Regions from separate parts of the Homo sapiens genome. Here regions 1, 2, 3, 4, 5 and 7 are each linked to region 6. The links are contacts of gene promoters, found by promoter capture Hi-C in blood cells and fetal thymus (Javierre and others, 2016). All regions are on one chromosome and are shown on one strand. Each heading gives the region's core, a stretch centred on a gene start or on the middle of the fragment in contact. The rest is flanking DNA. Distances are from core to core; before and after follow the strand shown. Region 1 overlaps EXOC1 (exocyst complex component 1). Region 2 overlaps POLR2B (RNA polymerase II subunit B). Region 3 overlaps CLOCK (clock circadian regulator). Region 4 overlaps EXOC1 (exocyst complex component 1). Region 5 overlaps EXOC1-AS1 (EXOC1 antisense RNA 1). Region 6 holds the start of SRP72 (signal recognition particle 72). Region 7 overlaps IGFBP7 (insulin like growth factor binding protein 7).

What was found. Contacts are between HindIII fragments. The CHiCAGO score rates a contact against its expected background, and 5 or more counts as called.
Region 1: a contact is called between a fragment that was not itself captured here and the fragment with the promoter of SRP72 in region 6, in 1 of 17 cell types (neutrophils). The highest score is 6.8, in neutrophils.
Region 2: a contact is called between a fragment that was not itself captured here and the fragment with the promoter of SRP72 in region 6, in 5 of 17 cell types (monocytes, naive CD4 T cells, naive CD8 T cells and 2 more). The highest score is 10.3, in monocytes.
Region 3: a fragment that was not itself captured here is called in contact with the fragment with the promoter of SRP72 in region 6 in 1 of 17 cell types (total B cells); the score reaches 6.0 in total B cells.
Region 4: a fragment that was not itself captured here is called in contact with the fragment with the promoter of SRP72 in region 6 in 1 of 17 cell types (activated CD4 T cells); the score reaches 5.2 in activated CD4 T cells.
Region 5: a fragment that was not itself captured here is called in contact with the fragment with the promoter of SRP72 in region 6 in 1 of 17 cell types (neutrophils); the score reaches 5.4 in neutrophils.
Region 7: a fragment that was not itself captured here is called in contact with the fragment with the promoter of SRP72 in region 6 in 1 of 17 cell types (monocytes); the score reaches 5.0 in monocytes.

The regions. Positions count from the first base shown.
Region 1 is chr4:55,868,775-55,871,474 of GRCh38, forward strand. It overlaps EXOC1 (exocyst complex component 1), which reads left to right. Exons shown (of 19, transcript NM_001024924.2): 6 at 1,904-2,131; 7 at 2,327-2,459. Among named protein-coding and RNA genes, the nearest start is that of EXOC1, 16 kb to the left of the region's middle. The HindIII fragment of the contact is 5,306 bases long and covers 1-2,700 here.
Region 2 is chr4:57,010,655-57,013,354 of GRCh38, forward strand. It overlaps POLR2B (RNA polymerase II subunit B), which reads left to right. Exons shown (of 25, transcript NM_000938.3): 12 at 94-233; 13 at 335-446. Among named protein-coding and RNA genes, the nearest start is that of POLR2B, 33 kb to the left of the region's middle. The HindIII fragment of the contact is 8,493 bases long and covers 1-2,700 here.
Region 3 is chr4:55,537,946-55,540,645 of GRCh38, forward strand. The region is part of intron 1 of CLOCK (clock circadian regulator); the gene reads right to left. It also overlaps the pseudogene RN7SKP30. Among named protein-coding and RNA genes, the nearest start is that of CLOCK, 7.6 kb to the right of the region's middle. The HindIII fragment of the contact is 5,124 bases long and covers 1-2,700 here.
Region 4 is chr4:55,901,082-55,903,781 of GRCh38, forward strand. EXOC1 (exocyst complex component 1) reads left to right here. Exons shown (of 19, transcript NM_001024924.2): 18 at 1,263-1,457. It overlaps EXOC1-AS1 (EXOC1 antisense RNA 1), which reads right to left. Exons shown (of 5, transcript XR_941069.4): 4 at 1-73. Among named protein-coding and RNA genes, the nearest start is that of EXOC1-AS1, 46 kb to the right of the region's middle. The HindIII fragment of the contact is 2,674 bases long and covers 1-2,623 here.
Region 5 is chr4:55,919,137-55,921,836 of GRCh38, forward strand. All of the region lies in intron 3 of EXOC1-AS1 (EXOC1 antisense RNA 1), which reads right to left. Among named protein-coding and RNA genes, the nearest start is that of EXOC1-AS1, 28 kb to the right of the region's middle. RefSeq lists an enhancer at 1,562-2,700. The HindIII fragment of the contact is 1,700 bases long and covers 429-2,128 here.
Region 6 is chr4:56,466,304-56,469,003 of GRCh38, forward strand. SRP72 (signal recognition particle 72) reads left to right here and starts at 1,314. Exons shown (of 19, transcript NM_006947.4): 1 at 1,314-1,441. The coding sequence starts at 1,333. It overlaps LOC124900706 (a long non-coding RNA gene), which reads right to left and starts at 1,255. Exons shown (of 2, transcript XR_007058126.1): 1 at 789-1,255. RefSeq lists an enhancer at 1,159-1,368. The HindIII fragment of the contact is 5,513 bases long and covers 1-2,700 here.
Region 7 is chr4:57,051,446-57,054,145 of GRCh38, forward strand. All of the region lies in intron 1 of IGFBP7 (insulin like growth factor binding protein 7), which reads right to left. Among named protein-coding and RNA genes, the nearest start is that of IGFBP7-AS1, 57 kb to the right of the region's middle. The HindIII fragment of the contact is 3,080 bases long and covers 1-2,700 here.

The DNA.
Region 1 (2,700 bases), core at 155-2,654, 600 kb before region 6:
GTAAAAACTAGGCCAGAGAACATCTTGGGAGTTGATTCGCTCAGCCTCTGAAACATGTCTGAATAGTTCAGTGCCAAAGAATAGCATTTGTGTGTATGTGTGTGGTTTGAAAAAAATAAAAATAGGGATGAAGTATAAAGAGAGAAATGTGGCTGAAATATGTGAATCATTTACCAAAGAAGAGTGGAGTGAGTGTGGTGAAAACAGGAGAGCCAGAGAAAAAGATCTGTGACTTCTTTGCTAAAATGTTTTAGAATAGACCTTTTTGTTTTGTGTGCAGTTTTTGAGTGTAATTCAAATGCACAGCACCTGCTGGGGCAGTGGCTTACACCTGTAATCTCAACACTTTCGGAGACTGAGGCGAGCAGATCACCTGAGGTCAGGAATTCGAGACGAGCCTGGCCAACATGGCAAAACCACATCTCTACTAAAAAAAAAAAAATTAGCCAGACATGGTGGCATGCTCCTGTGGTCCCAGCTACTTGGGAGGCTGAGGCACAAGAATCGCTTGAACCTGGAAGACAGAGGTTGCCGTGAACTGAGATCGTGCCACTGCACTCCAGCTTGGGTGACAGAGTGACACTCTGTCTCAAAACAAAACAGAACAAAACAAAAAAATCAAACACACCGCATCTCTTATGCTAGAGTAATCTAAAATCATTTGGGTTTGTTCTGGTTTTAAGAAAAGGTAAGCATTTAAGAAATCCCTCAGAGGATAAGGAACATTTTAAAGACTTAAATTTTAGTGTTGTATACATGAAAGGTACAGAAGTTATGGGGTCTGACTCAGGCCCAGAGAGATTATATGAATAGTCCAGGCTTACAAGTTTACAGAGTTCACTGAAAGCAAAGCCTAGAAATGATTTTAAGATGTTAAGGAAGAAATCCTGGGCAGATTCAAACCCCAGCTCTGTTACTTAAGAGATGTCAGTGGCTTCTGAACCCTTCTGACTCTTAAAGTCGTATTGCACTTACATTTTATTTACTGTGGATAGTATGTAAATAACGTGTGAAACCACAGCGTCAGCTGTACAATGATATCCTTTAAATTTCTGGTCCAGGTTTTTCATCGTACCATGTTACTTGCCTTCTTAATATGGCTTAGTGATTTATATTTTTTGTTCTAATTAATATGGTATATATGTTCCAAGTCAGCATATTGCTTTGCAGTTTAATTTTGGATTTGGCAGTTTCCTTATTTCAGGGAATTCAGAATCAATAGTCAGAATCATTTAGAAAATAGTGATAAGGGGATGGTGGTTTGTTACTGCTTTGCCTGGGGAAGAAAAAAAAAACAGTTGAAAGAGAAAAGAAAAAAGATGATAGAAGGAGCTATCGGCCGTATGCTCTTCTACATCCTGTTACTAGTTCCCATCATACTACAGTTATAAATTAGTTTCATATATCCTTCAGAGTCTGGTATACCACTGCTGCTTTCTCAACTAAGATATCACATAGGTGATTATGCTTTTATTTAGGGTTTCACATAGGTGTTAAGAAAATTTCTAGCTGGTAGAATTGGAGGAAATGTTAGAGATAACATGGCCTAATGCCTCCTAAATGTATAGAAATGAGAATGTGCCATTACCAGTGATACTTTCTGGCACCTTACTTGTGCATTCTGGAACCTTACTTGTGCAGTCTGTGGAAATATAAAATCCTAAGGCATGGTCCCTAACATTGATTTAGAGGCAAGTGTACCTGCATGAAATACTGTGTAAAACATGGAAGAACATAAAGTGATAAACTGAAGTAGATGTGTAGGTATATATCAATTTTTGTTATGCTACTTTCAAGGAAATTTAGCAACATTTCACCTTTATTCTTTTACACATCTAAATAACAAGTATGTTTTTTGTTTGTTTGTTTGTTTGTTTGTTTGTTTTGGTCTTTAACTTTGTAGGCTAACATCCAGTCAATCATGGCATCTGAAAAACAAGTCAACATCCTGATGAAATTGCTAGATGAGGCTCTAAAGGAGGTAGATCAGATTGAATTGAAACTGAGCAGTTATGAGGAAATGCTCCAAAGTGTAAAAGAACAAATGGATCAGATCTCTGAAAGCAACCACCTAATTCATCTTAGTAACACTAATAATGTAAAACTCCTATCTGAGATAGAGTTCCTTGTGGTAAGTATGATCATAAATTACCAACAAAAAAAAACTAGTGATGATATATAAAACCCATTTGTAAACATTTTTTAATTTCCTTGTGAGAACAGGATTTAAAATAATTCCAAAGACCTAATGATAGGACTGAATAGCATCTTGCCTGTAAATTTCCCAAAATTACACATGCAAATGGTGTGTTTGCATATATTCTAGAACCACATGGACTTGGCCAAAGGTCATATAAAGGCCCTTCAGGAAGGAGATCTTGCTTCTTCCAGAGGCATTGAGGCCTGCACCAATGCTGCTGATGCCCTTCTGCAGTGCATGAATGTAGCTCTTCGACCAGGTATGTTCATTAGAAATGACAAAAATGTGACCAAGAATGTGAGACTAAGCCTGTAACTTGTTATAAAGGTTTTGACAAGAAATACATGAGACAAGTGGTTTAAGGGTTACATTATTAGCTATTCAAGTTTCACTGATTTCCCAACTTATTTCTATTGATACTAGGAACTTTTTTACTTCAGTTCCTCCTTCTAATTGTCCTCAATGACTATAGTCAACACCATGATCTTTATTTAGTACTA
Region 2 (2,700 bases), core at 94-2,593, 540 kb after region 6:
ATCTTGAAATCACATTGAAGGAAAAATGTTTATGGAAAAGAAGTTTGATAGGCATGTAAAATCAGAATGACTAATACTTGGTTTATTTTTTAGGGCCATGCTGTAGGACTTGTGAAGAATTTAGCCTTGATGGCGTATATTTCAGTTGGATCTCAACCATCTCCAATTCTGGAATTTTTAGAAGAATGGAGTATGGAAAATTTAGAAGAAATTTCTCCTGCAGCTATTGCTGAGTGTGTATAGATGGAATTAGTTTTTTAAACTATAGTTAATCTTTAGTTGTTGCTTAGTATAGAATTGTTAAGTGTAAAATGCTTTTGCTTTTTCATTGTAGTGCAACCAAGATTTTTGTTAATGGCTGCTGGGTTGGAATACATAAAGATCCCGAACAACTTATGAACACCCTAAGGAAATTGAGACGTCAGATGGACATCATTGTGTCTGAAGTAAGAATCTTTAGTTAAGAGGGTGTGGACTGTGAGATTTTTAAACAAGGCATAGGACTAGTGAAAGTTATCTTTGCATTGGCATCTTTTCTTTGAACTTTATTCCCTTGAACTGTAAAGTGTAAATTTAATTATAAGTTATTGCTAGGCCGGGTGCAGTGGCTCATGCCTGTAATCCCAGCACTTTGGGAGGCCGAGGCGCAGATCACCTGAGGTCAGGAGTTCAAGCGCAGCCTGGCCAATATGGCGAAACCCCATCTCTACTAAAAATACAACAATTAGCCAGGCACGGTGGCATGGGCCTGTAATCGCAGCTACTCGGGAGGCTGAGACAGGAGAATCACTTGAACCCGGGAGGCGGGGGTTATGGTGAGGTGAGATTGCACCTCTGCACTCCAGCCTGGGTGACAGAGTGGGTCTCTGTCTCAAAAAATAAAAAAAAGCCTGGGCATGGTGGCTCACGCCTGTAATCCCAGCACTTTGGGAGGCTAAGGCAGGCGGATCACAAGGTCAAGAGATTGAGACCATCCTGGCCAACATGGTGAAACCCTGTCTCTACTAAAAATACAAAAATTAGCTGGGCGTGGTGGCGCGCGCCTGTAGTCCCAGCTACTCAGGAAGCTGAAGCAGGAGAATTGCTTGAACCCAGGAGGCGGAGGTTGCAGTGAGCCAAGATCACACCACTGCACTCCAGCCTGGCGACAGAGCGAGACTCCATCTCAAAAAAAGAAGTTATTGCTTGCCTTAATCTTTCGATGCATGCTTCCAAAAATTTTGGCACATTTTAAATTATTAAATTATATTTTAGAACTCAAATTACATTTTAAAGTAAAAATTCTTTTGGGAATCTTTTTATAAAGCTGAGAATACTTTTTAAAAGGGAATAACCATCTGGGATTTATCCTTTGAATCCAGAGATTCATTAATAAAATGTGATATACCACTAATAGATTCTTTTATATTTTGGAGGATATTGAAGTGCTTTGGGATTAGGATGGGTTTTAAAAAAATCATTACAATAAGGCCGGGCCTGGTGGCTCATGCCTGTAATCCCAGCACTTTGGGAAGTTGAGGCAGGCGGATCACTTGAGGTCAGGAGTTTGAGACCAGCCTGGCCAACATGGCAAAACCCTGTCTCTACTAAAAATAAAAAAATCAGCTGGGCATGGTAGCATGTGCCTGTAGTCCCAGCTACTCGGGAAGCTGAGGCATGAGAATTGCTTAAATCCGGGAGGCAGAGGTTGCAATGAGCAGAGATTGCACCATTGTACTCCAGCCTGGGTGACAGAGTGAGACTCTGTCTCCAAAAATTTATTAAAAAAAAAAAAAATCATTACAATATATTGTGAACTTTATTACTCTCCCAAGTAAGGGTTTTAGTATACTGTTTGCGGAATGTAGTTCAGGCTTTTAATTTTCCCAAATCTATACCTTGGGTGAAAGTGGTTTTTGAGAGAAACTGAACACGCTTAGCCAGTAGCTGGTCTTTGTACCTAAAACAGCAGAGAAGAGAGTTTGGTTGTTCTGGGCCTTTTCCAGCAGCAGACCCTGAGTGTTTTTTTGTTATTGTTGTTGGGGGGCAGGGACAGAGTCTGGCTTTGTTGCCCAGGCTGGAGTAGAGTGTTGCTATCTTAGCTCACTGCAACCTCTGTCTCCCAGGTTCAAGAAATTCTCATGCCTCAGCCTCCTGAGTAGCTGGGATTACAGATGTGTACCACCATGCCCGGCTAATTTTTGTATTTCTATTTTTATTTTTTTGAGGTGGAGTCTCACTCTCTTGCTCAGGCTGGAGTGCAGTGGCATGATCTCGGCTCACTGCAACGTCTGCCTCCCGGGTTCAAGCAATTCTCCTGCTTCAGCCTCCTGAGTAGCTGGGATTACAGGTGCCTGCCACCATGCCTGGCTAATTTTTGTATTTTTAGTAGAGACTGGGTTTCTCCATGTTGGCCAGCCTGGTCTCGAACTCCTGACCTCAGGTGATCCACCTGCCTCAGCCTCCCAAAGTGCTGGGATTATAGACGTGAGCCACTGCACCTGGCCAATTTTTGTATTTTTGGTAGAGATGGGGTTTTGCCATAGTTGGCCAGGCTGGTCTTGAAGTCCTGGGCTCAAGCCATCTGCCTGCCTTGGCCTTCCAAAGTACTGGGATAACAGGTGTGAGCCACTGAGCCCAGCCTGGCCCTGGGTTTTGACCCAGGCTTATTTACAGCTTGAAGTCAGGAAGAGAGTGATTCACTTGAGGGCAGGCAAGGCT
Region 3 (2,700 bases), core at 28-2,527, 930 kb before region 6:
ATAAAGACCAGGGCGGAAATAAGAAAACCACAGGCAGTCAATTAAACTAAAAGTTAACTTTTTAAGAACCTCAATAAAATTAATAAACTTCTAGCCAGACTAATCAGGGAAAAGGGGAGCAGAGACAAATTACTAGTATTCGGAATGATACTAAATCTCTACAGGTTATACAGATATTAGACTCATTACACTTTCTACAGATATTAAAAGAACAATAATAGAGTATTATAAGCAACTTTTTGCAATAAATGCAACAAGTTAAATGAAATGGGTAAGTTCCTTCGAAAACTTATCAGGCATGTGAAGAGACGGAACAATACAACCATATGACCAATAACCAACAGAAAAACAAACAAGATAAACAGACCAATAGATGATGCCGATATTGGAAAAGACAAGCATTTAAATAACTATAATTAGTATGTTCAAGAGAACTGGAGTCTATTACAAGTCTATAAAACAACATCAAAGGAATACTCTAGAACTCAAAACCACAATGTAAAATTAAGAACACAAAAGATTATTTTGACAAAAAGAGAAGATAGTTTTGGCATACTGGAAGGCAGGTCGATAGAAAATATCCAAACAGAGAAAAAAATTTTTTTCAACATGTGGAACATGATAATTAAGTTTAATATATGTGTAATTAGGATCCAAAAAGAAAAAAGGGGCAGAATATATGAAAAGGTGGTAACAGAACTTTCCAAAACTAAAAGGCATCCAGCTAGATTCAAAAAACTCTATAAACATAAAGCAACAAAGAAAACCACATCTGAACACATCAAAGTGCTTTAAAAGTAACACAGAGAGTCTTAAAATTAGCCAAGGAAAAATAAAAGACACATTATCCTCAGCAAGAATATAGCTAATACATTGCCTTCAATAAGACTGGTAGCTGACTTCAACAAAAAGAAAGGAAGACAGAAAGCAACCAAACATTCTTAATGTGTTGAAAGAAAATAACTACCAACTTAGAACTTAATAGCCAGTGAAAACACACTTCAGGCCAGCCACAGTGGCTCATGCCTGTAATCCTAGCACTTTGGGAGGCCAAGGTGGGCAGATCACTTGAGGCCATGAGTTTGGAGACCTGCGTGGCCAACATGGCAAAATCCTATCTCTACTAAAAATACAAAAAATTTAGCTGGGTATGGTAGCACATGCCTGTAATCCCAGCTACTCAGGAGGCTGTGGCATGAGAATCATTTGAACCCAGGAGGCAGAAGCTGCAGTGAGCTCAGATCACGCCACTGCACTCCAGCCTAAGCAACAGAACGAGACTGTCTCAAAAAAACAACAACAACAACAACAAAAAAAACACCAAAAACCACTTCAAAAAAGGTGAAACTGCCGTGCATGGTGGCTCACACCTATACCCAGCACTTTGGGAGGCCAAGGTGGGGGGATCTCTTAAGCCCAGGAGTTCAAGAACAGCCGGGGCAACATGACAAGACCCCGCCTATACAAAAAATTTAAAAATTAGCTGGGCATGGTGGCATGTGCCTGTGGTTCCAGCTACTGAGGAGGCTGAGGTGAAGGATTGCCTGAGCCCAAAAGGTTGAGGCTACAGTGAGCCATGTTCACACCACTACACTCCAGCCTGGGTGCCAGAGTGAGACCTTGTCTCAAAAAAAAAAAAAAAAAAAAAAAAAAAAGGTGAAATTGAGATATTTTCAGAGAAACAAAAATAGAAAAAATCACTGATACTAGGTAGGCCAGTATCAAAATGCATGATATAGGGAAGTGACAGTATTATTATCCTAAAAATTGAAAACAACTTCAATGTCCAACAGAAGATTGATAAGTAAATTATTACACAGAGATGAGAATGTTACATACCTACTAAAAATAATCACATAGCAGAAAAATACTGACATGAAAATATGTTGATGATTCACTGTTAACTGAACAGCTTGCACTGCAGTGGACTACATTAGGAGCCCATAACATCATATAAGTATACATATACTTATGTAATGGCTCAACAAAATGCAGGAAGCAGATAGATAATCAAGAAGATTAACAACAGCACTTTCGGTGGTATGATCTCCAATGATATTAATTTTTTTTTTTTTTTTTTGAGACTGAGTCTTGATCTGTCGCACAGGCTGGAGTGCAATGGCGTGATCTCTGCTCACTGCAACCTCTGCCTCCTGGGTTCAAGCAATTCTCCTGCCTTAGCCTCCCAAGTAGCTGGGATTACAGGCACCCGCCACCATGCCCGGCTAATTTTTGTACTTTTAGTAGAGACAGGGTTTCACCATGTTGGCCAGGCTGGTCTCAAACTCCTGACCTCAAGTGATCCACCCACCTCAGCCTCCGAAAGTGCTGGGATTACAGGTGTGAGCCACTGTGCCCTGCCTAAAATGTAATCTATGCTTTCTTACTGTTTCCCACATTAGGGATGTGCTATTTTTTAATTGGGGGCAAGAGAGGAGGGGAGAGGAGGGGAGGGGAGGGGAGGGGGGAATGGAGAAAGGCAACTCTTTACATTAAACCATATTTTAATACAAATGATAAGTTCTTAGCTAGGCATATGGTCTAACCTTTATTGGTATATCCCCCATGTGTGCTTTTTAATTTTTTTTTGATACCAAAACCTGCCAACATGAATCAACCTGTACTTTCATTTTCCACTATTTGGACCTTGAGAGCTTGCTCGAAGGTTCTAGCAGGGGAGCGCAGCTGCTCGTATACCCT
Region 4 (2,700 bases), core at 37-2,536, 570 kb before region 6:
TTTAAAGCAGAAATATTGTTAGATCCTTTATTATTTAGCATTGTTGTTGAAGCACTAGCCAGTTCAACAAGACCTGAAACATAAATAAGAGATATGGAAAACAGAGACGAGATTATCACCACCTGTATATGATATGTTGAAATTACTGGTGTTGGTCAAGTGACAAAATTTAAAGCAAATATACTGAAAAACAATGTATTTCCTGTCTACCAATTAAGAGCTTATGTAAAAACAAAATTTTTAAAGCACTAAGAATAACTTCTCAAAGAATGATAATTTAATGAATAATCACTAAGAAAATTTTAGAAAAAAGTAATGAGAGGGAATGGGGTTTGTCAGCATTAATTCTTTGTATCGTGCTCAAATACAGTTATGCCAGTCAATAAAAGTATATATATAAAAGAAGACCTGGGAATAATAGTTACAATAATATAACAGAGTCAGTATATTTAATATAAAAAATCTTACTAAAATCAATAAGAAAAGCACTAAGACCCCAATTTATAAATGGGGCAAGGGGCTGAATCACTACTAAACATATAAAAGCAGGTTAACCTTATTTATAGCCAAAGAATTATAAAATAAAATGACAAACTTTTTTTACTCTGGCAACTATTGTTATAAATTGTCATAATGCTTATGATGGTATAGTGAAGTAGCAACCTCATACACTGTTGACAGAAATATAAATTGGTTGAGCTTTCCTAGGAAGCAGTTTGTATATATACTGAAGAATCTTTCAAATACTTAAAGTTATGCTCTTCAACAGAGTAATTATAGTCCTGGAAATTTAATCAGTAAGATGGGTAAATACTTATATACAAAAAAAATTTATGACAAATATATTTATAGTAGATTTTCTAAAGTCTCACTAGATTTGCCAAGTCCAAAAAAAGAAGGGGGAGTGGGATGTTAAATATCTAGTACTAGAGGAATGAATAATAATTGTGGTTCAGTCATTGTGTGAAATATTATGCAGCCATTAAAATTTATATTTAGGAAAAAACAATATTAAATGTAAAGTGGGACATGAAATTTTAATCTCCTGTATGTATTCACACATCAAAAGATTACAAGGAACTCTACAATATTAACAATGTTCATCTCAGAAGTATGTTAATAAGTGATTGTTATTTTATTGTTTATACTTTCACACACTGATTTTTGCATGGTGATTATACACTACTTTGTAATCAGATTTTTTTAATGTAAATAATAATAAATGCAGGTCTTAGCCATTGTTTCTTTTCATTTCCTTGAAGCATTTCTTTGAAGGTGTTGAAGCTCGCGTGGCACAGGGCATAAGGGAGGAGGAAGTAAGTTACCAACTTGCATTTAACAAACAAGAACTTCGTAAAGTCATTAAGGAGTACCCTGGAAAGGAAGTAAAAAAAGGTCTAGATAACCTCTACAAGAAAGTTGATAAACATTTATGTGAAGAAGAGAACTTACTTCAGGTATGCTTACTTCTTTTGACCATCTGACTTAAAGATCCTTACATATATTGCTTTTCTTTAAATAATTTTCTAGAAATGCTACAGATCTAGAGCAGGAGGAGAGTTCCATTAGAGTACAGACCAGATTAATGAATTGTGAGGAAGAAAGGAATACTGTTTATATAAGCATATATGGCTATTTCTGCTTATTTCGTATTTCTGCTATATTATGGTGAGGCATTAAGTTTGTTTTTCTTTGGTTGGTTGGTTGGTTGGTTGGTTGGTTGGTTGAGTGGTTGGAATTAGAGATGGGTTCATAATCTGGCTCCAGATTAAGCTGTGTGACTTTGGGAAGTTACTTAACCTCTCTGAGCCTTAGTTTCCTTATTTGATAAGTGGAAACGATACATCTCTTGTACAGTAGCCACTGTATTGGGCAACATAGCAAGACCTTGTCTCTACTAAAAATTAAAAAAATTAGCTGGGCATGGTGGCACGTGCCTGTAGTCCCAGCTACTCGGGAAGCTGAGGCAGGAGGATCACTTGAGCCCAGGAGATTGAGGCTCCAGTGAACTATGATCCTACCACTGCACTCCAGCCTACGCAACAGAGTGAGGCCGTGTCTCAATTAAAAAAAAAAAAAAAAAGAAAGAAAGAAAGAAAAAGAAAGAAAGAGAAAGAAAGAAAATCAGCTTAGAGAGGTGGAGTAATAGGACCAAGCTCTCTTAACTAATGGGTAGTGGAGCCAGATTTAAAGTCCAAATTAGGCCATTATTCTTTATAAACCATATTGAAAGGCCCAGATATGAGTGAGAGTAATTCTGATTTCAACATCATGGAAGACTTCCTGAGGGATATTGCATTGTTTGTTTTAACCTCTGAAAGTCAGATGTACTTGAACAGGCAAAGTGGGGATGGAGGGAGTAGCATTCTAGAAAGAAATAATATGAGCTAAACGATGAAAAGTAAAAAGCATAACACTGCTTAGGGAATAGCGATTGGTCTTAAGTTGGCAGGAATTTAGGATTTATGAGATTTAGGATTTACAAGAAAAAATCTTGGAAGAATACATTCCCTCAGCTGTCAAATAGGGAAGATGATCATAATACCCACCCTCACCAGGTCATCATGAGACTTAATACTATAATATATTCATAAAGTGCTTTGTACTGTGCTGATAAAGAGTAAGCTTCAATTAATGTAATCTATTTAAGCCATTATGTCAATGTGTGTATCACATTGTGTCTTGGTAATTGTCTACATA
Region 5 (2,700 bases), core at 29-2,528, 550 kb before region 6:
GATTTGTATACGGCAGAGGGGTAGAGATTTGAGAGTCGTTACCATAGGTACAGTAGCAGAAATCACAGAAGTCTATTCGGTTGCTCAGTGTATTATACTAAGAAGAGAAGAGCTCTGAAGCTGGAACTCTGGGGAGTGCCAAAATTTAGAGAGGATAAGGAGCTCACAATGGAGGTTGGCCAAGAGTGACCAAAGATATAAGAGGTAGTTGGGAGAGATTGTGTTACAGGGACCAAGAGAAGAACACGTTCCAGAAAGAAAAGTGTGATCCACAGTGTCCAATAGTGGTTAAATAAGACAAGGATGGAAAGAGTCCACTAAAATTGGCATTTGGTTGGTCATTGCTGACCTTGGTCAAGGCATATCAGTGCTTCAGTAGCAGAGAGAAAGCCTGATTGTGGTAGAATTAAGTGCAAAGGTGCATAGGAAGCTTTAGGTATTAAGGAACCACTCTTCCCTGAAGCTCGATCATGAAGAAAAGAACAGTATTCACAGCACTTTGGGAGGCCAAGGCGGGCGGCTCATGAGGTCAGGAGACAGAGACCATCCTGGCCAACATGGTGAACCCTGTCGCTACTAAAAATACAAAAATTAGCTGGGCGTAGTGGCATGTGCCTGTAATCCCAGCTACTCAGGAAGCTGAGGCAGGAGAATCGCTTGAACCAGGGAGTCAGAGGTTGCAGTGAGCTGAGATCACATCACTGCTCTCCAGCCTGGTGACATAGTGAGACTCCATCTCAAAAAGAAAAAAAAAACAAAGAAGGAAAAGAACAGTAGTAACCCAGATTGATACCCAGGGTCAAAGCCAGGATTTTATTTAAATGACCTCAAGCACTTGTATCTGTCAGAGTTCAGTGAAGAAAATCAAAAGCATTCTAGGTATTTGAAGAATTTAGGCCAGGCAAGGTGGCTCACACCTGTAATCCCAGCACTTTGGGAGGCCGAGGCAGGCAGATTGCTTAAGCACAGGAGTTTGAGACCAGCCTAGGCAACATGGCAAAACTCCATCTCTAATAAAAATACAAAAAAAAAAAAAAAATTACTGGTGTAGTGGTGCCCGTCTGTAATACCAGCTACTCAGGAGGCTGAAATGGGAGGATTGCTTGAGCCCAGGAGGTCAGGGTTGCAGTGAGCTGTGATCATGCTGCTCCACTCCAACCTGGCTGACAGAGAAAGACCCTGTCTCAATAATAATAATAATAAAAATAAAAATTCATGAAATATCAGTGGAAGTGCTGGAGGGCCAGAAGTCAAAGGGCCATCACTGAACTTTTGGCTTCAAGATGCCATCACTACTGCTACAATCCATGGCTTCCACCACTGCTACCACTGTAGCTGCCACACCATAGTCTCCCTGCTCCACCTCTGAGATAGCAAAGGGGAAAAGGACGACAGCTGGTTTAGATTTTTTGAGCTGGTTTAGATGACCGTGGATGTGGAAGCAGGAAGTGAAGACGTGCTCCTTCCCATATGTAGCAACCCAAACATATACTGGTTAGAAACAGAGCCCTGTTTCCAAATGGATAGTCGTATGTGATTATCCCAGAGCACCGTGTACCAAGCACTGCAGTCAGAATGTACTCTCTGGTTTAATTTTCACAACAAGAGCACTAGGGGAAGTCAGCTGCCCATGTAAGCAGTTTTCCAAGTCACATGGCTAAGAAGTGATGCAGCCACAATTCCAACCCTGGCTTGTCTGACTTCAGCTGTGCTTCCCTGGCACGGTCACCAAGCAAAGACATTTGCTACCTGCCCACTTGGGACAAAGCAGAGAAGAAGGGCTTTTATTTTCAACCGACCTTCCAAGAAATTGGTTTAGAATACTCCAAAATGACCTTGGAAAGAGCCCTGCTCACCAGTCCTGGAAACTAGACATAAACTGGGTCCTGTTTCTTATGTCTATGCCAACAATTGATTCACTGGATTGGCATTTCTCATCCCCAATTTAATCGGCCTGTCAAAGTTATGTCTTCTTTAATTTAAAAAAGAATCATATTACTACTTTTTAAGACATTGACAAATCCAATTGATCAATCACCACTGCATTCCATGTTACTCTATCACATTAGAGAGCAGAGGCTGTATTGGCTATGCTTTATGACACATCAAAAATAAAATAAGACATGAAAGCTTTGAACATTACTGCTATGGTATCAGTCACATGAAAACAGGAAAGCCGTGATAAAATGCCTTGTCATCATCTAATATCTTCACTCTATTACTCAGTGTAAGGTCACTTATATATGAAGCACTTTTATAGGAAGCAATTAAAAGAAACCTGTAAATAAAACCTCATAGGCCGGGCACAGTGGCTCACACCTATAATCCCAGCACTTTAGGAGGCCGAGGTGGGAGGATTGCTTGAGCCCAGTAGTTCAAGACCAGCCTGGGCAGCACAATAAGACCTCATTTCTACCAAAAAAAAAATTGTTTAATTAGCCGGGCTTGGCAGCAGGTGCCTGTGGTCCCAGCTACTCAAGAAGCTGAGGTGGGAGAAACACTTGAGCTGGAGAAGTCAAGGCTGCAGTGAGCTGCGATTGTGCCACTGCACTCCAGCCTGGGTGACAGAGCAAGACCCTATCCCCAAAAATAAATAAATAAAAATAAAAATAAATGCTGACAATTTAATATCTGTTCTATTTAAACTATTATAATCAGATATAATCCTATCAAGAAAGCTAAAAAAAACTAGGCATCCCA
Region 6 (2,700 bases), core at 64-2,563:
GGAGTTTGAGACCAGCTTGGCCAACACAGTGAAACCCCATCTCTACTAAAAATTCAAAAATTAACCGGGCGTGGTGGCTCATGCTACTTGGGAGGCTGAGGCAAAAGAATCGCTTTAACCCAGGAGGTGGAGATTGCAGTGAGGTTCATCCTGGGTCACAGAGCTAGACTACGTCTCAAAAAAAAAAAAAAAAAAAAAAAAAAAAAGCTAGGTTCCTGAGGGACACAGGAAGTAGTAGAAGTTGTAAAGGTCATGACGAGATATGAGTCTGAAGAGCAGGCCATTCAATGAAATACAACATTCACATCAAGTGAATCACTCACATCGTCTTGGTGTGGTGGCTCATGCCTGTAATCCCAGCACTTGGGGAGGCTGTGGTGGGAGGATTGCTTGAGCCCAGGAGTTCCAGACCAGCTTGGGCAACACGGCAAGATCCCCGTCTCAAAAAAAAAAAAAAATCACTCACATCAAGTGTACCCAACAGATATCCATTCCCTTCGTACATCTGAACACATCTTGATATTAACGGTCGCAAGCAAACCCTAATATTTTATATCTCTAGAACAAATATAGTATCCCCATTTCACAATCGGGAAAACAGACTCCCAGAAGCTAAGTAACTTGTTTATTGTCAGACATCTAGTGAGTCGCAGAGCCAGGGAACTGACCACGGGCATTTTCACCCCATTACCCTTCCAGCTTATTGCCGACTGCTCCCGAAGGGAGCGAAAAGGACAGGCAAAGGGTTTCACCAAACCCTTTGTAATGGGAGATTCTTGCCTTCTTACCTTTCCTCACGTTTGCTTCTCTGCCAGAATGTCTTCCCGCACTTTCCCCAGAACCCAAGTTCTCCTAATCATCTTTCAAGATCCCTTTCCCTCAACCACAGATGAGCCGTGCCTATTTCTCCTTCAAATGACTCCCTATGGCTTCTAGTTGGTAGTCTTTTATTTACCACCTCATAGTCCTTTTATTTATATCCCATAAATGATCGTCCGGCCCCGCACCGTGGGACCAGGACGCTGCCTCGACCATGGCGGTCTCCTGGAAACAGGCTGCTTTGAGCCGAAACTGGTGACCGTTTCCCAACCCCGTCCAGGAGTCCGACGCCTCTTTTCTCCAGGCCAACTTCAAGTGAGGTGTATCAACTCTATCCGCACAAATTTCTTGCCACGAGAGCAGAAGATTATGATCTCTGATGCTGCCTTAGGGCTGAAGACACTCCCAACTCGGCGACGCTTAGCAATCATCGACTTCCTCCTCCTCTTGGCTGCCTCGGAGATCCTGTTCCGGGGCAGAGGTCTCCCCGCCCCGCCCCTCGTCTCCTCCAAGATGGCGAGCGGCGGCAGCGGGGGGGTGTCAGTACCTGCGCTGTGGAGTGAAGTGAACCGGTATGGCCAGAACGGCGACTTCACGCGCGCTCTCAAGACCGTCAATAAGAGTAAGTGTCGGGGTGGGCACTGGGGCGGGCCCAGGCCGGCTGGAGGATGCGGCCTGTTTCCGGCGCGCGAGACCACCTCGCGCGGGAGGCACGGGAAGGGGAGACCCCCGAAACCCCCCCGTCTATTGTCCGCCCGGCTCGGGCCCTAGCGCCCGGAAGACGCAGGTCTCACTCCTCGGCTTCACCAGGCCAGCCTGGGGTCCCTGGTTGCTTACAGCCACGTGTACTTCTCTTTTTACCCTCCGCGGGAAGCGAGGGAAGGTTTTAAAGAGACCGCAGCTCCCGGAGTCCATTTCAAACTGTTTTCTTATTTGACTCCTTTGCTGCTTTATTTCACAAATATTCCAAAGTGCCTCCTTTTCTTCTTCGTCTTGAGCGCAGTGATCAGGACTCTATTGCTGAGGGAGCTTGTTCTCTTTGGCCGCTAAAGGGGGAGGAACCTGCTTGGGACACGTAGTTTAGAGGCTGGTGCTAACCAGGTGGAAGCTGTACGGGTTCTACGGGGCGAGAGGAAAGGGCTGGATCTGGATGTCAGGCCTGTCATTCCCATAGATGAGATCTCTTCAGTGTTATTAAGTTAGGAAATATGTGTGTGGAAGCACCAACACTTGAAATAATGTCGGAAGAAAAGTTTGGCCTGTTTTTTTGCCCTGTAAGGGATGATTTCGGTTTTTACCGCCTTTGGTGTGAGGTTTAATTCATCATATTCTTTTGTTCCTTACTACATACCTGGAATATGGCCATGCTGCTTAATGTTCTCGGTGGTGCGCAGTTCTTCTCTACTGAAGATACAGCCTGTGCATGTTAGATTTGGAAATGTAATTACCAAGGCAGGGCTTAGCTGTTCAGAGTAGCAGTAACCTAAAAGGTGTGTCAGTAACATGCAAAGCTATCTAAGTAATTTTCAACACTCTAGTACTGGGTTAACGTGAAAAGTAGTGATTGTGCCCACAGTGCACTTTTGGTGATTTCAGACATTGAGGAAAATAGCTACGAATTAGAATTATTTGATCCCTAAATTTGTTTGAATTAACTCTAGCCTTCCAACCAGTACTGTATACTTAGTATAGTATTTTGCAGGAATTCTTTAATCAGCAAAGATTGTCAACTTGTTTACCAGTATGTTTTCTTAATTGGTAGAAATTCTTGTGATTCTTTGAGAATTGGACTTCTGTAGTTGCACAGGAGCAAGAGTAACTATGATCCTGGTCATTTTAACACCGAACAGTTGTTAGCGTTGAAACTTGCCACCTGAGTTC
Region 7 (2,700 bases), core at 41-2,540, 590 kb after region 6:
CTAGTTATGGAAGCTACTGTTAGTCATTTCCACTTTAGTGTGAATGAAGAACCAATAGTTTATAATAATGGGACCCTGCCAAACACTGTTTAGGGCAAAAGTGTGTAAGAACTGCTTCCTCTTCTCTAAATATAATCTGTTGGGGTGGTGTTGGGGAGGCTTAGCGCATTAAGAGTAAGAACAAAATGCTGGGAGGTAATAGACTATAGTGACTTTGGAGCGTGGACTTGGAATCAGGAATTCTGCTCTACCACTCCTGAGTTATGCAACATTGCACAAGTTATTTCACTTCCCCTGCTTTATTCATCTGTGAAATGGAATGATAGTATCCCAGTCATTAGACCATCAAAAGGATCAAACAAGATACAGCCATTAGCACAGTACCTGGCATGGGGTAAACATTCAGTAAGTATGAGCTGTTGCTTTTCATTTCAGAAATTAGACTTTCATCAAGGAAGGTGAAAGACAGGGACCTGCCTGAGGAGAGGCAGGAAAACGCTGGCCTGCCTTGAATAGTGAGCATGCGGGCCAGCTCGGGAAGAGGATTCGTGTGTGGTGTAGGGCACAGCAGAAAGCAGATGAGGTGGGGCCTCACCCTCCAATGTGTCTCTGAAAGTGGGAGTGTCATGATTCAAGTGGCATTTCCCAAGATGATTTTGGAGGTCTCCGCATCAGGATGGGACATGGCGGGGATTAAGGCTCTAACTCAAGGTCGCAGCAATGAGAAGACAGAGAAAAGGGGAAGACTTGGGGGATTATTCAGGAAGAACTAACACTACCCAGTAACTGACTGGATGTAGGAAAGAGAGGCATGATTTAAAGGCTGTGAGCCTCAAAGGTTCCAGGAGGCTGCCGCACCATGAACAGAAGCAGGGGTGTCAGTCTGAGGAAGGTGCTGGATTGAAGAAGGGGAAAGGGTGGACTTGGGTTTAAATTTGCTGAATTTCAGGTATCACCTGGGCCATGAGGAGGCACTGAACCCCAGTGGGGAGACCAGAAGTGCCAAGGCAAGCACTGTCTAGCTGACATTTTAGCCCTGGGAAGGCTATGTGGGGTCCTTTGGGTGGAAGGAAGACAGATTTGGCACTCCCTCTCACTAGTTTCTCCAGAGGGAGTTCCATCAGCTCACTGCTGACCACCTGGCCCGTCCCCACCCCACCCCAGGTAAAGCAGATAAGTGAATAGCACGGCCTTGCTTAGCTTCCAGGCACGTATTTGCAGGGCCAGTCCATCTAAGAGCAGACCATTCAATACAATGCTGCCCTGGTGACCGCGTGCCCAGGTCTTGTGAGTTGAGTTCCTGGCTGATTGCTAGTTACCTCTGGATTAATAAGACACCTCGTTTTGGGTCCAATCTTTGATGCTGAGAATCTTCGTAGGGAGCATGAAGTCTGTTTTTCTCAAGTGGACATAGTACTCAAATATCTCACTACGATGACTGTCAATCTTGTGATATCTCACAATTATCACTGTAATTTTGAATTGACCACAGAACATGCACAGAAAGTTGCTTCTTGCAATGTGTTGGTTGCTTGCAAACAAATCTCTTATTTGATGATGCTTTCTTTTCTATCTTTTTTTTTTTTTTTGAAATGAAGTCTTACTCTGTCGCCCAGGCTGGAGTGCAGTGGTACAATCTCGGCTCACTGCAGCCCCTGCCTCCCAGGTTCAAGCAGTTCTCCTGCCTCAGCCTCCAGAGTAGCTGATACTACAGGCACACACCATCACACCTGGCTAATTTTTGTAATTTTAGCAGTGATGGAGTTTCACCATGTTGATCAGGCTGATCTCGAACTCCTGACCTCAGGTGATCTGCCCGCTTCGGGCTCCCAGGGTGCTGGGATTATAGGCGTGAGCCACCGCACCTGGCCCTTGATGATGTTTTCTTATTCTTGTCCCCTTCCTTGTATGGGTCTAGCATTAAAAAAAAGTGGGGTACTGACAAAGAGTCTGACTCCAGGGTGTGGTTCTTGCCCATGGTGGTTCTGGTACATGTGGTCTGGTGTCATTCTTGAAGGGACCCTGCTACTGCCATGAAGCAAATCCATGAAGGACTTGAAACCATGTTCAGGTGTGCAAGATGGTGAGCTCGCTCTGGTAACCATGTGATAGATGAGGTAACATGGGGCTGTGCCAACAACATTGCCCAGGGATGAGCTAACGTATTCAGCAGAGCTCCCCTAGGAAGCTGGAATACCTACACTATCATCCTAATACCAGACTGGCTGAGGTCCACACAAGTTGAATCAGCAGGCTAGGTTTTGAATTGGTTTGAGGACCTGGAAGAACTGACTTTATAGAGAGTGCTTTCCCGAGACGAAACTCCCTAGTGATGTTAACATAGCCTTGGAAACACATTTTTTCCACATCTCATGGGCCTGTCCTGTCTGGACTATGACTCACCTTAAATACAAGATATTAAATGTTTTTGCTAGCGCTTTCTTATTCTGCAAGCACTGAATTGGGTGGGAAGTTCCCATAGGAAACTTATTGCTAACCACGTGGATGGTCACACCTGATTCTGGGATTCCTAGAAGCCTAGATAGTGAGTTTCCCTAGGAAATTTCTCCTTCTTTTCTTGGGATGAGATCTTGTTACATTGCCCAGGTTGGTCTTGGACTCCCAGGAGTCCAAGCTCAAGCCATCCTCCTGCCTCAGCCTCCTGAGTGGCTGAGACTACAGGTGAGCAACCACCAAGCC